Regions from separate parts of the Homo sapiens genome. Here region 2 is linked to region 1. Evidence: promoter capture Hi-C in human tissues and cell types (Jung and others, 2019). All regions are on one chromosome and are shown on one strand. The core of a region is centred on a gene start or on the middle of the fragment in contact, and the rest is flanking DNA. Distances in the headings are between cores, read along the strand shown.

Region 1 (3,238 bases), core at 452-2,951:
TGGTGCTAGCCTGTACTGTCTGCTACATTATTTAACAGAGCAAGCTCTATTTCCAGCAGCTGCCTACATGATCTCATTGTGCTGTTTTGCCAGTTTTCCTCCTCTGACCCCGCCCGGGACCATGTGCCTGAATTGAAATGAATTAATTAAGATGCACTGGAACAAAAGACAACGGGATGCGGAGTATAATTCTTCTTTGTCTGTAGCAATTTCATTACTTTTTTTTTTAAAAAAAAAGGTTTTTCCAGATCTTCTCCACTGTAAAAGCTGAAAAATTATCCGTATCTTAACACACACACACACAAAAGTTCCTAAGTTAGAAACAAGCATCACATGAAAAGGTACCAAAGAATAAAAGCCCAGTGGAAGGATAATGAAATATTTATTTAAAACAACAAAATAGTATTTTCATCCTGAGATTCTCTACCCATCACATAATATTCATATTCTTTGCATCCAATAGAGGTTTTCTTCTCTGTGGTCTTTAGGGCTACCACTTTCATTGTCTATTCGCTGATGTGGTGGGGGCGGGGCGGGGGGGCGGCGGGGAAGGGCGTTTCCCTGGGTCCTGACCATCAGGGTACCCTGGGGCTCACAAAGTGGGCTTTCTCCCTCGCTGAACGTGCAGTCCAGACAGACAGACAGACACACACACACACACACACACACTTCAGTCGGTCAGGGCAGGGCGTCCCACAGACACACACACACACACACACACACACACACACACACTTCAGTCGGTCAGGGCAGGGCGTCCCCAGACCAGACATTAAAGAGCTTGTGAAGTGAATTATGATTTTGCTCAAGAAAAAAAAAAGTCATCTAACTTATAATAGTGAAGAAAACCCTTTTGGAGCCTACAGTTCCGCAATGATGAAAGGTTTTTTTGTTTTTTTTTCAGTCAGCTCCTGACAGAAGAGGTTCAGTGAGGGCGAACCCCGCCCAGTGGCTCCAACGCCATAGAAGCCAGAAACAAACAACCCCGCCCCTGCGCCGCCCTGACACCCGCTGCCGGGGGCTCCGGCAGAAACTCACCATGTTTTCCCGGGAATGTGTGGGTATCTTTCCAAAACGCCAAAGACCGCGGAGGGTCTTCCCACGCTAACCCTAGGCTGCGCTTTGTTCCCGTTCCCCCTCCCACGTCCCCCAGCTCGCCCAACGCCCCCGCTCTTTTTGGGTGCCTCCTCCTCTCCCGGTCCCCAGAGAACAACGCGAGACAGAAAGTGGCCCCTCAGCATCAGCGAAACCGTGCGCACAGACACGGGGCCCAGCCGGGACGCCCCAGACCCCTCGGTCGCGGCAGACGGGCTGCCCGCGGCCCCCGAAAGTCTCTCGGATAACACAGGCGCCTAGGCGCCGCCTTTGTTCCTCCCCAGCGCTCTGCTGCGCCCTGGGCGCAGTACTGGCCCGGTTCCTGCACCCGCACTGCGGCGGCGGCGGGGCTTGAGGATTTGGGGCTAAGCTAAACCTCACAAAACATACCACCACCCTCGCCCAGAGAGCTTACGAAAGAAAAGAGCTTAAAGGTTTTCCAAGTAGAGCCTGGGGGCGCTGACTCCACCCAACGGCCACAAAGAGCCGAAGCCGATTCTCACCATGGTTGCTGCTTCGCGACTGCCGAGCTGATGGCGGAGACGAAGAGGAGAGGTTGTTGCTTCTTACAGCGCGACTCTTAGGCGGTCGATGTAAGAGAACCTGCGGCACATAGGCGGATGCGGCTCCCTATATACAACTCGGTCACCATGGGGATGGGCCGGGGCCTTTTCCTGTTGGTCCAGACCCCCAATCTGCCCAGAGAAGCCATGACAGGAGACTGGTGATTGGTGCAAGCGACGTGGGATGAGGTAATCTCTCCCCCACCCCTTTTTCTCTAGCATCCGTAGACTGTTTGCATCCTTTAGACAAAGAGACCGTGCAGAAGCAGTCGGCCGAGCATCCATTATGGGGCGGGGTTGGGGAGGGGCGGAAGGAGAAGAAAGGGGACTGGGGTTAGAAGACTTTCTGTTGCTTAAACCTCAAACTGCAGTTAAAATTATCTATGTGAGGTTTTTTCCCCCTACCCTTAATAACAATTTATGTTTAGATTAAATATTTAAAGGAAAATGACTGCCAGCCCCTCCCTCGTAGTATATTAAACTCGACTACATTTTGTTAGGGTTCAACATCTCTAATTGCTTTAAACGTAAAGTGGGAGGGAAAATCGGCATGATGCTCGAAATGGCCTGGGTATATGTGATTTTTTTAATTTAAAAAAAGATTTAGCCATACGGTCATTCCAAATGGTTTCTCAGGTTCAACTAACTTATTTTCAGAGCTTCTTCTGCAGGCACACGCACACCCGAATAGCTAAACAAAACTGGAAGATGGAAAGAATAACCATATTAAATAAAGAAGCGAACAAATAGTTCTAACATGGCAATAATCAAGAGCAAGTGAACGTAGAGTAGTTATAATGGTTTACTAGAGGTATTCTTTTATGAGAAGTCTATGTAACACATTTTGTATGGTACATTGTCCTTTGGAATGAATCATCTTTCCTGATAGAAAATTGGGAAAATACAAGGAGAAATAATTGAGCTCAGAAGTTAGTACTACATGTGTGCAGTTACATATCTGAATTGGACTTTTGTCTGGAAAGTAACAAGCAAAATAATAGTAATAACCAATACACCAAATTAAAAAGAAGAAGAGAATAATATAATGTAAAAAGAATTTTGCAATGTCGCCTCCATCCACAGACAACTGTGAAACATCAGCTCAATAAACGCATTTCCTTTTTATGTAGTTCTTATGTCAATTTGGTAAATATCCTCCTGCGAGTGGGCTTCTAACTGTGGGAATTTTAGCCGGCCTCACACCCTTGCTGTTCAGCTAGAGACTCTGGTGGTTGCTCAGTTGTCCCTTGGGACAAAAAGGCTTTGCTTTCACCCCTAGGAAATAAATTGGAGTAAAATTATCTTGATATTTAGGAAGCCTCCATTCTCAGCAACGATCCGGAGTAAGTCACTGGACTTCGTACCACTGGATGTTGGTGATGAAATTTCAGAGGTAAATAAGTTTGGCCACTAAAGTTGAAAATTTATTTTTTACAAATAATTTTTCCTTTTGGTTTTCAGAGACAAATTTTCAGGGTCTGCAGCACTACTCACACAGTGCTCTGCGGAACCCATTCATTCCTGCTAGGCTGGCAGGCTAAGAAGGGCGTGGGAGGGAGGGACTTGAGAATACAGCTGCT
Region 2 (3,452 bases), core at 470-2,969, 330 kb after region 1:
GAACGCCAGATTAATTATTAGGAAAGTTGTTTATTTTAACCCACCCCCAAACTGGTAAGAATAGAAATGCTGGGCTAGGTCGAGATCATGACTCACAGTTAAATCACTTGTGTGTGTGGTCACGGGCCAGAGGATGCAGCTTTGAAGCACTGAAATGACTTCAGCTTTGGTCCATTTTAACTTGAAAATTTGAGAATGTAGCAGAGATGCCTTCCACTGTTTTTCAGAGGTGAGATTTCATTACATTGAGCAATATATTTTGAGTTTCTAAATTTGACATTTCAGTCCATTATTTTATCTGTATATTCTCTTTTTGAAAATGGAAATGCAGATAAACTAAAACCACTAAGAAGACATATTTCTTAGTTTTGAGAAGAAGGTCCTTTTAGGCCAGGCGTGGTGGCTCACGCATATAATCCCAGCACTTTGGGCGGATCACCTGAGCCCAGGAGTTTGAGACCAGCCTAGGCAACATAGTGAAACCTCGTCTCTACAAAAAATAAGAAATAAGGCTGGGCGCAGTGGCTCATGCCTGTAATTCCAGCACTTTGGGAGGCTGAGGCGGGCAGATCACGAGGTCAGGAGATCGAGGCCATCCTGGCCAACATGATAAAACCCCGTCTCTACTAAAAATACAAAAATTAGCTGGGCATGGTGGCACACGCCTGTAGTCCCAGCTACTCGGGAGGCTGAGGCAGGAGAATCACTTGAACCCAGGGGGCAGAGGTTGCAGTGAGCCGAGATTGCGCCACTGCACTCCAGCCTGGCAACAGAGCAAGACTCCATCTCAAAAAAAAAAAAAAAAAAAAAAAAAAAAATATATATATATATATATATATATATATATATATATATATATAAATCAGGCATGGGGTCATGTGCTACATGTAGTCCTAGTTAGTTGAGAGGCTGAGGTGGAAGGATCACTTGAGCCCAGGAGGTCGAGGCTGCAGTGAGCTGTGATTGCACCACTGTACTCCAGCCTGGGCGATAGAGCAAGACCCTGTCTTGAAATTAAAAAAAAAGAAGGTGCTTTTAAGAATATTAATACATCTTTTATATTAATAGAAAATTTTGGCCGGGTGCAGTGGGTCACGCCTGTAATCCCAGCACTCTGGGAGGCCGAGGCGGGCTGATCACGAGGTCAAGAGATCAAGACCATCCTGGCCAACATGGTGAAACCCTGTCTCTACTAAAAATACAAAAATTAGCTGGGCATGGTGGCATGCGCCTGTAGTCCCAGCTACTCGGGAGGCTGAGGCAGGAGAATCACTTGAACCCAGGGGGCAGAGGTTGCAGTGAGCCGAGATTGCGCCACTGCACTCCAGCCTAGCGACAGAGCAAGACTCCATCTCAAAACTAAAAAAAAAAAAAGAAAAGAAAAGAAAATTTCAGATAGCGAGGCTAATGTAACAAATTCCCATCACTCAGCTTCAACCAATTATCAATTTGTGGCCAATCTTATTTTATCAAATTCAGAGCTCAAAGTTTTACTTAACTTCATCAGTTTTATATCTTTAGCTCTTTTCTCCCTGAAAATCCTGGTTCTCAATGATATTACTCATTTACCAATGCTATCAAGAGTAATTACTCATTTACCAGTGCTATCAAGAGTTGCTTTTTGTTTTTTACATATTATAATTTTATTAAGTAACTGATAGGTTTGTAGTATTTCAATCTTTTCCAGTGTTGTATAATTAGGTCCTATGAGTTATCTGTTACGTGTAGAAAGCTTTTTATTCACCTCATTTTTGCCATTTTGAGAGCTATAATTTTGTCATAGAATCACTGAATGCTAGAGCTGAGAGAAACTGAAGTTGATACAAATGGCAAATAGGTTTTATCTTGGGACCTAAACCAATAGATCATTTGTAACTGTTGGGCTTTGGCGTTAAGAAACTTTTGTAGGCATGCTCCTGACTCCTGAGAAAGTGGGCCCTGATTGATTAGTGTGACTTGGGTCTAGGCAGCCCATGTGTGCATCTCTGTGGCAGTTGGGCTGAGTAAACTTGCTAAATACATCCAGCTCTCTGTAATACCTGGTGTAACTCTTTAAAACTTCTGTTTTTTTCTGACGTGAATTTGGCTAATTCCTCAGTGTGTTACAGGATTCTATGTATATCAGTTAGGGATTGAGTTTGACTACATGGAACAGAGTGGCCTAAATAAATGTGAGTGTCCTTTTTTCTCAGAAAATGAAAAGTACAGAGGTAAGCAACCCAGGGCTGGCAGGACATTTCCCAGATGACATTAGGGACCCAGGATCTTCTGTTCTTCTGCCCAGCCATTCTGAGAGTATGCTTATGGTCAAAAGACAACTCCCTAGGCTCCAGTCGAGAAGGAGTAAAACGTTACATGCTAAGACTCCCTTAAAACGCTTTCCTGTAAAGCCTGCCCTTTGAGTTCTGCTTATATCTCAATGGGGAAACTATATCACATGGCCGTTTCATCTGTAGCAAAGCCAGAAAATATAGATTTTTTTTTTACCCAATTATGTTGGTACCCAACAACATTGGATTTCTGATAGCCCTGAATGTTCCTGAATGTAGTTGGAAAGACTGTGTTCCATCAGCTAATGGTCTTTGCTACAGTCCTCCACTACCCAGTATCCCTCTTTTTTCCAAAATGAGAATATGTTCACCACCTCCTCAATAGCAATACCTCCAAAGTCTCATCTAGTTAGTTAATATTCAGCTGAAAGGCCAGGTCTTCAGAGTGATTTCAGATCTTCCAAGGATGGGGTCTCATAAATTAAAAGAAAGGCTAAATGCCCCCTTCTCCCATATTACATAGTTGGAGAAAGAAAAGGATAATTATAGTAAAAATTCCCACTTGGAAAAGCAATGATCAAATCTTGCTGGATGGGAAGGAATAGCAGAGTCCCTTCCCTGGTAGTAGAGAACATTCGTTGGGTGGTTTATCTGCTTCCTGGGAGGATTTCTTTGGTTTTGTTTCCACTGTAGCCCCTGTCTCTCTGGGAGATTTTTATTGTATGTTCTCTGCCATGACCATATCCAAGTTATATATCAGAAAGCATGCCAGAGAAGGTGGTTCTTAAAAGGGTGTAACAATCTAAATACCCATCACTAGGGAACTCGGTAAATAATTGTGGTATATCCACATACTGGGTGGCTGTTAAACAGAATGAAGGTGATCCAGATGTATTAATAGGGAATAAATTTAAAGATATATTAAGTAAAAATAGCTAAGGTAAAAGAAAGACCATGTGTATGATATACTTCCATTTGTGAGAAGGGAAAAAAGAGAGCTACATATGTATGCATGTTGTATGTACATACACAATATTTGGATGTGTACGTAAGAAATGGTGAACAGTCGTTTCCCCTGGAGAGGAGACCACAAAATCAGAAATAAGAGAGATGCTCTTTTCATTTTATACCCAACTTACTCTAGATGAATATTTTTTATTATGTGTACATATTTCCTTTTTA

What was found. Contacts are between HindIII fragments. The study calls those that stand out against the background at their distance.
Region 2: a fragment that was not itself captured here is called in contact with the fragment with the promoter of TUBA1A in region 1 in 2 of the 25 tissues and cell types used here (dorsolateral prefrontal cortex and lymphoblastoid cells).

The regions. Positions count from the first base shown.
Region 1 is chr12:49,187,379-49,190,616 of GRCh38, forward strand. TUBA1A (tubulin alpha 1a) reads right to left here and starts at 1,702. Exons shown (of 4, transcript NM_006009.4): 1 at 1,599-1,702. The coding sequence starts at 1,601. RefSeq lists enhancers at 1,381-1,972, 1,471-1,590. The HindIII fragment of the contact is 17,236 bases long and covers 1-3,238 here.
Region 2 is chr12:49,515,350-49,518,801 of GRCh38, forward strand. The region is part of intron 10 of SPATS2 (spermatogenesis associated serine rich 2); the gene reads left to right. Among named protein-coding and RNA genes, the nearest start is that of KCNH3, 22 kb to the right of the region's middle. The HindIII fragment of the contact is 7,896 bases long and covers 1-3,452 here.